Regions from separate parts of the Homo sapiens genome. Here region 2 is linked to region 1. Evidence: promoter capture Hi-C in 16 types of primary human blood cells and fetal thymus (Javierre and others, 2016). All regions are on one chromosome and are shown on one strand. The core of a region is centred on a gene start or on the middle of the fragment in contact, and the rest is flanking DNA. Distances in the headings are between cores, read along the strand shown. Region 1 holds the start of FAM241B (family with sequence similarity 241 member B). Region 2 overlaps TSPAN15 (tetraspanin 15).

Region 1 (6,678 bases), core at 2,920-5,419:
TGTTCTCTGACCACAATGTAATTACTAGAACCAATAATGGAAAGATAACAGGAAATCTCCAACACTTGTAGACTAAATGATCCTTTAACATAATCCATGGACCAAAGGGGAAGTAGCAAAAGAAATTTAAAAATACATATAACTAAATGAAAATGAAAATACACGTCAAAATGTGTGGGGCACAGCTAAAAGTGCTAACAGGGAAATTTATAGCACTAAATGTTTACATTGAAACATCTCAAATCAATAATCTAAACTCCCGACTCAAGAACTTAGAAACAGAAGAACAAAATAAACCCAAAGCAAACAGAAGGAAGGAAATAATAAAGATAAGAGCAGAAATCAATGAAATTGAAAACAGAAAAATAGAAACAGAAGACTCAGTGAAGCAGCGCTGGTTCTTTGAAAAGATCAGTCAATAAGATTGATAAACCTCTAGCAAAAGTGAAAGACACAAGATAGAAGACACAAGTACCAATATCCGGAATGACACAGGGATATCAGTGCCTGCCCTGTAGCCATGTGACTCGTTCTTCACAATGGAATGTGAGGGAAGTAATATGTGCTACACCTACAATACTTTTCTTTAAAAGAAATCACTAGCCCTCATTTCTTCTGTCTCACCTTTCCATGAGCTGCATATGGCGAAGAAGTTGGTGAGGCAGTTTTGACGACGCAAATAAGGGTGGCATCCTAGGGTGTAGGGGAGCAATAAGCTAGGAAGAGTGGATGTCCTTGGCTGGCCTTGTGAAGCAGAGCTGCCCATCTACTTGATTGAGTCACTGTATATTTTTTTTGTTCCAGCAGCATAGCCTGTACTCAAGCTAATATATTACACCTAGGTGGGTTTATGTCTTAGGGGACTTACATACTTACATATAACCAAGATATTGTGGGGCCACTCCAGTCTTCTGACTATGTAAGGTGTTTTCTGAGGCCTCCATCAATCCTCTGGTCCCCCATCATCTGTCCATGGATGAGGGCCATCACTGAACCACCCTTCATACCTGTCTACCTGACCCTTTCAAGTCCAGCAATTTTCCCACTACTACTACTACTACTACTACTACTACTACTACTACTACTACTTACTACTCCCTTGTCATTGCTGGAGCACAAGAATCCTTCCACCACACCTCAGACACAATGGACCCAAGGATTTCCACAAGGCCATATAAGGCCCTACCTGTCATACTCACTATCTGGCCATTCCCTTTCCCAAGCCTCATGCCCACCTTTGAGATCCAGCACACAACACCTATGCTCCCATCATTTCCTCCTTTCCCAGTGTTTTCTCTGAAGAGGCCCCTGTCATACTGTCTTCCATGGCCACAGGCCTAAGGAGGCACCAACAGTGGGCACTGGCAAGCTAGTGCTGCCTTTCTCCCACACCATTCTCTGAGTAATAAACACAGGCATAGTGTCTGCCAGAGTAGGGGAAAGAGACAGGGGGAAATAGCAGGAGAAAGAGATAGATAGATTAATATATTTAAAATGACATCACCATTATCATCATGCCATTCTCTTTTGAGGCAGAAACAGTTGTTCCCACCTGCAGAGTCAGAGAACAGGCCAGGACACCTGACTTAAAAATTATGACCTCTGCTATGAACAGAAAACCAAAAGCACATTTTTATTGACCACATGTTGGGGTTAAGGCATGACCCAATGCCCAATCTTGTGCTGATGGCACTGGGGAAGGTGGGGGCACAATTGTAAAGAGGCTGCAGAGCTGAGATGAACTCAGGGGAGTCTGTTTGGTGGATGCAAAAGCCTGGAATGCAGAGCCCGGGGACCTGCCTTCATTTGAACGCTGGCTCTGTCACTGACCTTGGGCTCATCATCTACCTTGTCTCTGAGCCTCAATTTCACCTTGGTAAAAGAGGAATAATAACACCTACTCTTTCTATTTCATAATCCAAAAAAGAATGAAGTGGTCTCTGGGAAAACACTTTGGAAGTAAGGACTCTGCACATATAGGGGTTATTATTATTATTACATGAAACAATCACGTTTGTGGATGAAGGGATTTAGATTGGGTGGAGCTGGCCTTCCAGCAGATATTCAGGCCCAAGCAAAGCAGGCCTTTGGGTGATCTACTTCAGGGAAAGCAAAGAGGCCAGGTGGGCAGAGCTGAGGGAAGGAGTTGCTGACAGTGTGCTGGGGCTAGAGTTGGAGGGTTGTCAAAGCCTTGCCAATGAGTTGGGGCTTGTTGGAGCAGACAGTAGGGACCATTGCAGGTTCTTGAGCAGGAGAGACACCTGAAGAAGGTGGAGAGATAGCAAAAGTGGTATGTTGCCTCCTTAGGCTATTTTAGTTGGTAATAATAGGCTATTTCTAAGTCCAGTCAAGCACTATCACTTCCCACCCCAAAGCTGTTCTTGACTTTTCTGTAGGGACTTGCTTCTTCCTCTCGACTCTTACGGTTCTCTCCAGCTGGAGTGTATCTCTCTGGCAGCAGTTATACCAGCTCAAATCTTCCTGAAAACATCCATGATTTTCTGCCTGTATCCCCTGGTTTCCCAGCCCACAGAGGTTACCTCCCTCTTGGGGCTCCTGAGTTCCGTGACCTACTTATGGGGTTCTGTTCATGGAAGGCAGTGTTTCTCGGCCCTAGCTGCTCATTAGAAGACTGGTTTTTAAAATGTCTCCATGCACAGATTGTAACCCAGATCAACGACATTGTGATCTCTGGGGTGGAACCTAGGTATTGGGATGGTTTCTAAACATTCCAGGTAATTCCAATGTGCACATTGCGATTTGGGATCACAGGCCACCTCTGACAATCGGGCATCCTGCCTTGTGATTACTGCTTTCATGCGTGCACTTGGCATACCTGGAACACACTGGGGTGTGGGGAGAAAGCACTAGGATTTTGGTTTATATTTACTTTACATCCTATGCTTTTAAAATGTGCATGCTTTACAATCGACTTGATAGTAGAAGAGGTAATGATCATAACAGTCAGCAGCCGTTGAGCATGTACTGCAGCCAGGCTCTCATCCAAGCACTTGACACGAAAGTGCCAGAAAGCAGTCACACCAACATTCAAACACAGGATGGCTCCAGCAGCCACCTTTTATCCATCATGCCAATCTGTTCTCACAGTACACATGTGTAATTTAGAAACAAACAAAAATAGTAACATATAAATAAGATACAGATACCAGAGCGACCCGTGAAACATTTTTTGCTGATAAGGTTTCATGATCAAATAATCAGACTATGGTGGCCGACTATGAGTCCTCCAGGCCAGGTCTAAATCTCTCTCTTAGTTTTGTTCCTTCTGCCCAGCAGCTAGCAGAATCTGGGTTCTAATAAATGCTCAACAAATATCTGCCACTCCCACAAACATTTATTAAATGATAATCATAGCTAACGTTTATCAACATTGCCAATGTGCCAGAGACATCATACTTAATCTTCACAGAAGTCCTGTAAGGCTATGATTACACCTGCTTTGTGACACTGAGCAGCTAAGTAACTTGCTAGAGTCCAGAACCTGAACCCAGACTGTGGGACTGCACAGCTCATTCTCCCCCACTGGTGAGCAGGTCCACAGGGAGCAGCTTATGAAGGTGGTGGGGGAGAAGTGGATTTTAAAACATCAGGAAGGAGGCAGAGGTGGATCATTCACTCCCTGCAGGTGGTTCCTTCTGCCAAGAGTGACCTTCTCTATCCTTACCTACCCTCCTGCCCCAGCTCAAACGCATCTTCTCCTGGAAGCCTACAGAGGGTTCTGCCCCGTTCCTGCCTCATCTTCCCCACTGAACTTGGAACTCCTAGAGGGCAGGGTTGGGTCCTACTCAAGGGGCATCCACGGAGCTGGGTCAGCAAACATAACACTGGTCATCTGAGCCTGCGCCCGCCCTTCCTCCCAGGCCAGGGCGCCCCCACCCCCTGGGTTTTTCCTCCGTGGACGCCGCTTCCTTTTCCTTCTTTTCTCCCTCCTCCTTCTTCTCCTTCTTTTCCACGTGTCTTCTCCTCCCATCCTCTTTTCTCTCCATCCCCACCTCCCACTCCTTCCCACGCCCCATCTCCCCGACCCCCAGCACCCCGCGCCGCCCCCAACCCTGGGCCGGGCAGGTGCAATTCCTCAGGCGGCCTACAGAGGGCGATGTGCGCCGCCACTGGGCCGCGCCCCTCCGGCGCGCGCTTCCTGTGAGGTCAGGTGGGAGGAAACCGCCTGGAGCCGCCGGGAGTGGACGCCGCCGAGGCCCGGAGTCGCGCCTGCAGGTGAGTCGCCGCGCCGGGGAGGGAGCGCATCCCTCGCTGCAGCCCGGGCCGGGACTTGGAGCCGGTGTCGGGCTCCAGAGGCTGGGGCTGGCGGCCGGGGCAGCGTCCCTCCCGCCCCCGGCCCGGAATGTCAGGTGCGCCGCGGGCCGGGCGCGCGGGTGGCCCACCGGGCGGGGGCGCGATGACAAAGCACAAAGGGACTGCGCGCGACCACCATCCGCTCGGCCTGCGCCAGGGCCAGCGGGCTTCAGGAGGGGGACGCGCCTGTCCCGGGCTCCAGGCTACGGGCAAGACCACAGGGCTCCTGACCTTTTTCGGCATACATGTCACCAGTGCTATCTGGAATGTAGGTGGACACTGAGGCTCATCTCCTGAGAATGAATGGCCTTTACCCAGACTCAAGGGGAGGCGTGGAGGGGCCCCGCAGTCCAGGGGTCCGCGGAGTGGAGCCTTTCGAGGGCCACCGCAGCAACCCCCTCCCATATTTTGGGAAGGCTGGGCCCTGCGCCCGTTAGCCAAGGTTGGACTGGTGTTCCCTGCGAAGTGAGGGACAGGTGAGGGGCGTGCCCTCTGCAGCAAAGGTGTGCTCTTCCGAGGCGCATGATGGCTAGGATGGTCTGCCGCTACCAGGCAGTGGTTGTAAAGTAACCCCGAAGTGACCCTCATCTCCCTGGGTGTTCCTGGGGAAGGCCCAGGTGGTGACATTGACTCCCTGGGGGAGCAACACACTCGACCCATTTTTTAGTGGAAGGGAATTGGAACCCCACTGGGGATGCTGGTGCCCTGGACTCCCAGTTTAGTACCCAGGGAGGGCCCTAGAACCAGAGCTTCTGGCCTCGTGTTCCTTCTCTGCTGTCCGTAGGTGTGATCCCGGGCAGGCCACTTAAGTCTCCCTGTGCCTCCGCCTGTGCAATGGCCGCGCTAGTACCCTCCTCGGGGGAGTGTTGTGAGGCTTGAGTGAGGTGAGCCTTGCAGGATGGGCCTTCCACGGGGCGTGGGCCACAGCAGAGGCTCTAGTCCCAGTTGTGCTGTTGGCAGTGTAGTGATTGGCAGTAAAACTTCCTTTGCCAAGGATCTTTTTGATAGTTTTCCTGGTGGACTCAATGTCTGAAATCTTTTTGCCTGGCAAACAACTTGCCTTTATTTCTCCCCTTTTTGTTAATCAGACACAGCATCTACTCAGCGTGGGTCACCTCTGTGAACATCACTGACTGCAAGCCTCCCTCAATTTCTGGTAAATTTTTTCCTTCAAGCTTTTTGAGGTCAGGGGGAAAATCCTCCACAGATCTTCACGAGTCTGGTCCCAGATCACTAACAGCTAAAGGTTTTGTGGTGGGGAGAACTTCTGTGCCACTTGGCTTCCATTAGCCTGCCCACCCTGACCACACAATGCAGGTGCAGCCCATCAGGGACCCACAGCGCCTGGGAGGATGGTGCGGATCTTGGCCAATGGGGAAATCGTGCAGGATGACGACCCCCGAGTGAGGACCACTACCCAGCCACCAAGAGGTAGCATTCCTCGACAGGTAGGTACTCATTTCCTGTGGAGTGGGACAGATGGCCTCCTGTGTACTGGCTACTCCTAGCTTCCAGAAGTCTCTCTTGCTGGTCACTAACCTTTTCTAGCCTGAAGCCCTCTTTGCAGAGAGCTGGGGAAGATGCAGTGGCTTATTGTCTACCTCCCCAGATCTCCTTTCTCCAGGCGCCTCCCCAGACTTCACAGCCAAGAGCTCTCTCTCCTTTAACTTGGTTAGCAAACCTCACTGGAGCTAGCGTCTTTCTTTTAAGAGTGGGTTGGATGACAGAAGCTGGAGAGGAAGTGGAGGAGATGAGCCCTGGGCACAGAATAATCATTTTAAAGGGGTGGCTGGGCGCGGTGGCTCACACCTGTAATCCCAGCACTTTGGGAGGCTGAGGTGGGCGGATCAGGAGGCCAGGAGTTTGAGACCAGCCTGACCAACATGATGAAACCCCATCTCTACTAAAAATACAAAATTAGCCAGGTGTGGTGGTGCATGCCTGTAATCCCAGCTACTCAGGAGGCTGAGGCAGGAGAATCGCTTGAACCTGGGAGGCGGAGGTTGCAGTGAGCTGAGATCGCGCCATTGCACTCCAGCCTGGGTGACAGAGCGAGACTCCGTCTCAAAAAAAAAAAAAAAAAAAAAAAGAAAGGAGTGATGATGAGTATTAAAAATGCTGGCCCTAGAGCCATGCCCTGTAGTCCAACCTGCCTCAACCACTTCCTCTCTCCTCTGTCCTGGGCCTGATGTGAGGAATATAGACTGGCATGTTCTGTGCTCTGAGAGCTTGTGACTTGGTTGTTGGGATTCTTATGGGTGGCATGGGGGATTGCTGAGAAAGGAGGGTGTGACCCTGGGTGGCTGTAGGAAGGGCAGGATGCAGCCTAGAGAGGTTGATTCCTGGCTGGTGCGTCAACCCAAT
Region 2 (6,678 bases), core at 192-2,691, 130 kb before region 1:
ATGGGCACTTGCTTGGTGCCAGGTCCAGTGCTGAGTGCTTCATGCATGGCACTCTATGTAATCACAGCTCAGCTGTGCAGAGCTGCCATCCTTATTCTTGCTTTACAGACAACCATCTGAGGCTCAGAGAGGCTGACCAACTTGCCTGAGGTTGCACAGCAGGGAGTGGTGGTCTGAGGATTTGACCTTGGGTCTGTTCCATTGCAAGACAAATGCCCTTTGAACTACATTGCAGAAAGACAGTTCTAGGTCCCAAAACCTGGTGGCTTAAGGGGCACTGTGGGGACTCTGAAAGGTGTCTGGCTACCAGGACGTGTACTGCAGCCCTGGTTGAGCCCTCCAGTCCCAGCTCCCTGCTTCAGCTGGCTGGCAAAGCTTTGCATGGTCCAGCCTGTGCCGCCCTTTCATCCTCATGCTCTGCACTCTCTCTGTTCCAGGCTTGTTGGCCTCCGCACCTGCTGCTGAAATACAAGCTTGTTTCTGCGTGGGGCCTTTGCATGGGTCGTCTGGCTTCTTTCTGTTTCCATGTTTCAGATGAAATATCCTCTCTACAAAGAGCCCTTTCATGACCTGCCAACCTAGAGCTGCCCCTCCCCACTTTCCCCCTATTTCTCCATTTCCAGGTTGCACAGCACCTTTCCATCCAGTGCTCACTCTCTGTCTCTCCACTGGAATGTGTTCCACCTGAGCAAGGGCTGCCTTGCTTTTGCTCACCCTGTCTCTCCAGTGCCCAGGACAATGCCAGGCACATACCAGCCATCAGGAGGGTTACCAACTACTTCCTACAGGAGCAGGGAGGGGAGGCAGGGAGGGGCTCGGCTAAGGGGAGAGCTCCAGGCAGGTTGTGAGGTGTGGGTGCTCTCCTTGCTAAGGGCAGGGCCAGCTGAGCTGGACGGGGTGGCTCCTAGGGTGGGTGCGAAGGTTGGTTGAGGTGCAGGGACTTTCACAGAATCATGCTTGGTCTCTGGGACTTTAAGGGCCATCTTTTCCAGCCTAGCACCTGCATTTGGGGACACGAAGATGAAGAAAGTGGAGGCCAGTTGTCAAGGAAGGACCTTTCCTCCCAGTGCCTAGTCACTACCCTGATATCCCACCAAGAGGCAGCCCAGCCTTGGCTTCCATACCTCTCTAGTGACAGGGGGTTCACTACCCTCTAGGCAGCCATGCCACACTTTGACAGCTCTGACTTGAAAGTGTACAGCCTCTCCCTGCCCCAGGGTGACCCACATAATAAACTGCCTCCGTCTCCTGACAGGGCCCCTTCCTGTCGTCTGAGCAGGGCCTGGGCGATGACGGCAGCTCCTCTTTCCTGCTTGCTTCCCTCAGTTCAAGTGCTGTGGCGGGGAGGACTACCGAGATTGGAGCAAGAATCAGTACCACGACTGCAGTGCCCCTGGACCCCTGGCCTGTGGGGTGCCCTACACCTGCTGCATCAGGAACACGGTAGACACTGCTCCTGTGGGGACTGGGGGGCTGTCGGGGACCCCAGGTGGTATAAATGTTCTCTTTTCTCTCTTCCCAACTTGAAGATGGGTGGTGTGGGTGGATGGCAGGGAAGTAGGAGTTGGTGGCAGAGCGGAGGCTTTCCTGATTCTCAAGGGCTCCTGAAAGTGGAGCTTCTGGGGGTCGGGGGTAGGGAGACCATGTCTTTCTTAGTGGTGTTGGTTAAAATCTATTGAGCACCTACCTTGTGCAGGCCTGCTCTGGGCACTTTGGTGGTATTTACTCATTTAGTATTCACGACAACCCTGTGAGGTATGTACTGTTATTTTACCCACTTTACAGATGAGGAAATTGAGGCACTCAAAGGCTGGGTGTCTTGCCCAAGGTTGGCAGGGCTGGGATGAAGTGCAGGCAGCTGTTGCCTGAGCTACACTCTGGAGAACTGTGCAGGCCAGGTGAGGGCAGGAGGGAGAGGTGCCCAGGCCAGGGGAGCTTAGCGGGGGTAGCTGGCTCTGCAGCATTAGTGGAGGCAGGCAGGACCTGCACCTTGGGCATCTCCATTGGTCTTTGGCCTTGAGGTCCTGGTGATCATCAGCAGCAGAGTGCTTGGAAGGGGGTCTGGTGACGTAAATGCCATCCTCTTCCTCTCCCCAGCACGATCCTCTCGGGTCTGTCACCTTGGTCATTTGGGATGATGTCTTGTGTTGTCAGCGCTTAAGTGAAAGGCTTCATCAGTCCTTGTGTTTGACAAATGTGTCCAGAAACTGTTTCAGGATTGGAACGAGGTGGAGAGCTTTGCAATTACTCATGGCCCAGATAGTCATGGAAAGTTTTTCTCCTGACATTGCCACCATTCTGTGCCCACTGCTGGATTCTGTAAACTGAGCAGCTGCGGGTGGGGGCCTCGCCCATGAGTCAGAGAGCCAGTGCCAAGTGCACTAGCTCTAAAAAAGGCCGGGCCAGGAGGGAAGCTTTGTTTGGAAGTGTTAGCTGCCATTTTAGGGTAGTTCTCTGGGAAGTGGGGTGCTGAGGAGTAGCAGAGTTTCCAGAGAGGCCTGCGTGGGGTGATCCTGAACCTCATCACCCAGGGCAGCAGCATCTGAATACCTAAGCTGAGATGTGGAAGCCAAACTTGTATTCATTCATTCATTCATTCATTCAACAAATATTGGCTGAGAACCTACTCTATGCCAGACACATTTCCAGGTTCTGGGGGTGTAGCAAACAAAGTCTCTGCCCGCAAGGAGGTGACATCCTAGTGGAGAAAACTGACAAACAAAATAAGTAAAAGATAGAGGATCATAAATGCTGAGTAGAAAAAGAAAGTAGGGCATGGAGGATTGCAGTTTGGGATACTGAGAAAGGCGGGATCTGGGTGAAGCTCTGAAGAAAGTGAGGAAGGTGTCTGGGGGAGGGGCATTCCTGGCAGCAAGAACAGCTGTGCAAAGGCCCCAGGTGGGAATCACCCCAGGGCGTTTGAGAAATGCACAGAGTGGCTGGAGCAGAGGGAGCACAGCGGAGGATGGTAGGAGGTGGAGTCAGGGAGGTCATGGGTACCCCGAAGGCCACAGGCAGGACTGTGGGGCACCCTTGAGTGATGGACCATACAGGGCTGCATGGAAGAGGGGCACTCTGACTTGGTTTTACAAGAATCAGTCTGGCTGTTGTGAGGGACATGCTAGATGCAGGGATAGAGTTAGGGGCTGATATGCAGTGATCCAGGGGTCATAGGTCATCTTGTCCAGGAAGGTGCTCTTGGATCAACACCTGTGGAAGTGGGAGCCAGAAGCGGGATTGGGCAATGAAGGGAGTTGAGCAGTGATGCAGCCTCAGCTCAGTTCGGCTGGAGGCCTCAGCCACATCTATGAGGACAGCCCTTCAGAGTTGTCCCCTACTGGGGTGAGGGGGCCAGGCCTTCACACTCCCACCCACATTGACCAGGCATTGCATGAGTCCAGTGGTCCACCCAAGAAGGGACTTGCTGGCTCTGTTCAGCCAAGAACAGACTAATACAGCAAGAGGAAAGAGAGGGATTGATTGATGATAAGGAATTGGCTTGTGTAATTATGGAGGCGGGCAAGTCCCAAGATCTGCAGGGTGAGTCGGCAGGCTGGAGACCCAGGAGAGCTGAGGGTGGAGTTCCCATTCAAAGGCTGGTCAGGCTTCAAACCTAGGAAGAGCCAGCATTTCAGTTCAAGCCCGAAGGTAGCCAAGCAGGGAGAATTCTCTTATGGTCACTGAGGAGAGGGCAGTCTTTTGTTCTGTTCAGGCCTTCCCTGATCAGATGAGACCTCTCCCCCTTGGGCAGGGCCATCTGCTTTACTTAGTCTGCTGATTTAAACATTAGCCTCATGCAGAAACACCCCCACAGAGACACCCAGGATAATGTCTGGCCAAATATCTGGGTATCCCATGGCCTGGTCATGTTGACATATAAAATTAATGATCACATGAAGTAGTTATTGCAGGGGGCTGACACCTAAGGGCTCCCCACAGCATCCCTGCACCAGGGAGGGGAAGACAGATGCTTGGAGCTGGGTGGTGGTGGTGGTGGTGGAAGTGGCAAACCGTGGTGACATTCTGGCTGTATTTTGCAAGTAAGCCTACAGGATTTGCTCGCATAGCAGATGTGGGCGATGAATGAAAGAGAGAAATCAAGGAGGATACCCAGGTTTTGGTCTGAGCCACAGGAAAGACGGGGCTGCCACTGCCTGAGAGGGGAGGACTGCAAGGAGGCAGGCTGGGTGACCAGGAGCTCACCGTGGACGTGGGGGGTTTGAGAGCCTGTTCAGCATCCCATCAGGGGTGTCAAAGATGCGGTTGGATATAGGAGTCTGGAGTTCTGGGAACGACTAGGCAAGGGGTGTAAACACGGACATCATCTGCAGATAGGGTAGAATCTAAAGACAGCATCTGAATGAGAGCACTGAGGTAGGGAGGAGCCTTCCCCTGGCCGGGGTTATCTGACCCTGTGTTACACATGACCATTGAGTCTCCCTGTGCCACCACACCTGGATGATTTTCTCTAAATGTGAAACAGGGCGTTCGCTTCCTCCATAGAACTGGTTGATTTGTGTCCAGATCTATTTATTTTACACTGTACTATTCAACCTGGGATTTGAATGAGTACACGGGAAATATGTAGTGTAAAAAACTAAAATAGCATTAAAAATCAGGACTGTGGGAATTGTATTCTCAGATAGGAGGCCTAGATGATGGAGAAAAATATAAAATCCTGCTATCTAAGCCTCAGGACCTCATGGACTCACTGAAAAGGAGCTGAGCCTCGTGTCTGGTGGCTTGGAGCAGGGCTCCCCTACCTCCAGGCCATGAACCAGTACCGGTCAGTGGCTTGTTAGGAACCAGGTCGCACAACAGGAGGTGGGCAGAGGTTGAGGGAGCATTGCCACCTGAGCTACACCTCCTGTCACATCAGCAGCAGCATTAGAGTCGCATAGGAGTGTGAACCCTATTGTAAACTGTGCATGCAAGGGACCTAGGGTGCATGCTCCTTATGAGAATCAAACTAATGCCTGATGATCTGAGGTGGAATGGTTTCATCCCGACACCATCACCCCCCACCCCCCCGCACCCCATCCTGTGGAAAAATTATTTTCCTTGAAACCAGTCTCTGGTGCCAGAAAGGTTGGAGACCACTGGCTTAGAGTTTCCTGGCAACCAAAAGGAAAAGGGAGACATGGTCTGTTACATTGTTACTGTTCAGCAGAACATACCAGCAGAACATACCAGTTCTTCAGGGAAAGTAACCTTTTCCCTAACACTCAGCTTTAAAAGAAATGTCTTATATGAGCTTCCAATAGAGGATTTGAGCCATAGAAGTTCACATAGGGCTGTAAAATCTGGTTATACCAGGATATATCCCTCGGAGATGTTGGTGCAGAGGGCAGCGTGCTTCTACATTAAATGGCTCCAGACTGCTGTGCCTGCTGAGCTCTTGGGACCAATTTTCACGTACCTCCCCTCCCTTGTTGTTGGCTACCCCTTGGGGGCCTGTCGCGAAGGCCCCTCTCCCTGTCCCCATTAGCTGCTCAGTCTTTTCAGGGTGAGAGGATGCACACACAAACATTGCTGTGATCTTCTGGCTGCCCAGGAGTCCCCCTTCTGACTTCCTGTCCTGTGGCCCCGTGCAGGATGGAAGAGGCTACTGGACCCTGGTCTTGGGGCCTGTGAACTTCAGCAGAGCCTCTTGCAGAATATCGATTCTATGGTCAGGCAGGTAAACCCAGGCAGGCTTTACTTTTGGAAAGACTATGGATGCATCGTATCCCCTCACCCCTTGGTGAGGGGCTCTCCTGGCAGGGTGAGGTGAGTCCCCCCTGGGCCTGGAGAAGGGTTCTGGGCTCTGATGCCAGAGAGGCCTCTGCCAGTTGCCTGTGTGCTAAGAGACTCATCCCCCGAGGTCACCAGAGCTGGCCCAGTGAAGTCACTCTTGTCACCTCCCTACGTACCATGCAGCTTACCTATTTGTTATGTTCATTATCTCCCTTTCTACAGTGTAAGTTCCATGAAGGCAGGGACTTTGTCTTGTTGTTCTGTATTTCAAGTGACTAGAACTGGGATTGACATGCAATAGGTGCTCAGTTAATATTTGTTCAATGAACAAATGAATGAACCAATGAGATGGAAAGCACTCACTCCCATCATGTGCCCGTGCACCTGCTCTCCAGGCCTGACCCTCTCCATAGGGGTTGTGTTTATGGCCTGGAAGGGCCAAAAACACTGGCTGACTAATGCCCAGTGGGCACTGGGCATGGCTGGGACTGAGGCTACCTGGAGAACCAGCTAAACCGAGGGAGGTCGTCTTGCCTGCACATCAAGCCCTGACATTTAGAATGACCTAGATGACATCTGAGGCCCAACCCTCTCTCGGAAGGAGAGAAGACACCCTCCCTTTCCTTTGCAGGGGCTGGAATTGTGAACAAATCACGCCAGCCAGCATTCTTGTGCTCCTCCATGTGCCCAGCCCCGTGATAAGCACTTTATATGTGTATCTCACTTTATGTCCAAAACAGCCCTAGGAGGTGGGTTCTGTGATCATCACAACCTATTCATTCATTCATTTTCTCAGTTAACAAATATGTATTGAGTACCTCTGCGTGCCAGTTCCTTAGCAGCCCACCTAAGGTTGGGCTCTGCTCCTAAGTGGCAGAGCAAGATCTGGACCCAGGAAATGTGACACCAGAGGGCACGCTGGGGGCTCTGCTGTTGCCCTCC

What was found. Contacts are between HindIII fragments. The CHiCAGO score rates a contact against its expected background, and 5 or more counts as called.
Region 2: a contact is called between a fragment that was not itself captured here and the fragment with the promoter of FAM241B in region 1, in 4 of 17 cell types (naive CD4 T cells, non-activated CD4 T cells, naive CD8 T cells and 1 more). The highest score is 7.3, in naive CD4 T cells.

Annotation. Positions count from the first base shown.
Region 1 is chr10:69,626,078-69,632,755 of GRCh38, forward strand. It overlaps FAM241B (family with sequence similarity 241 member B), which reads left to right and starts at 4,170. Exons shown (of 4, transcript NM_145306.3): 1 at 4,170-4,236; 2 at 5,403-5,470; 3 at 5,632-5,762. The coding sequence starts at 5,667. RefSeq lists an enhancer at 4,713-5,598. The HindIII fragment of the contact is 17,043 bases long and covers 1-5,487 here.
Region 2 is chr10:69,496,954-69,503,631 of GRCh38, forward strand. TSPAN15 (tetraspanin 15) reads left to right here. Exons shown (of 8, transcript NM_012339.5): 5 at 1,327-1,443. Among named protein-coding and RNA genes, the nearest start is that of TSPAN15, 49 kb to the left of the region's middle. The HindIII fragment of the contact is 1,941 bases long and covers 472-2,412 here.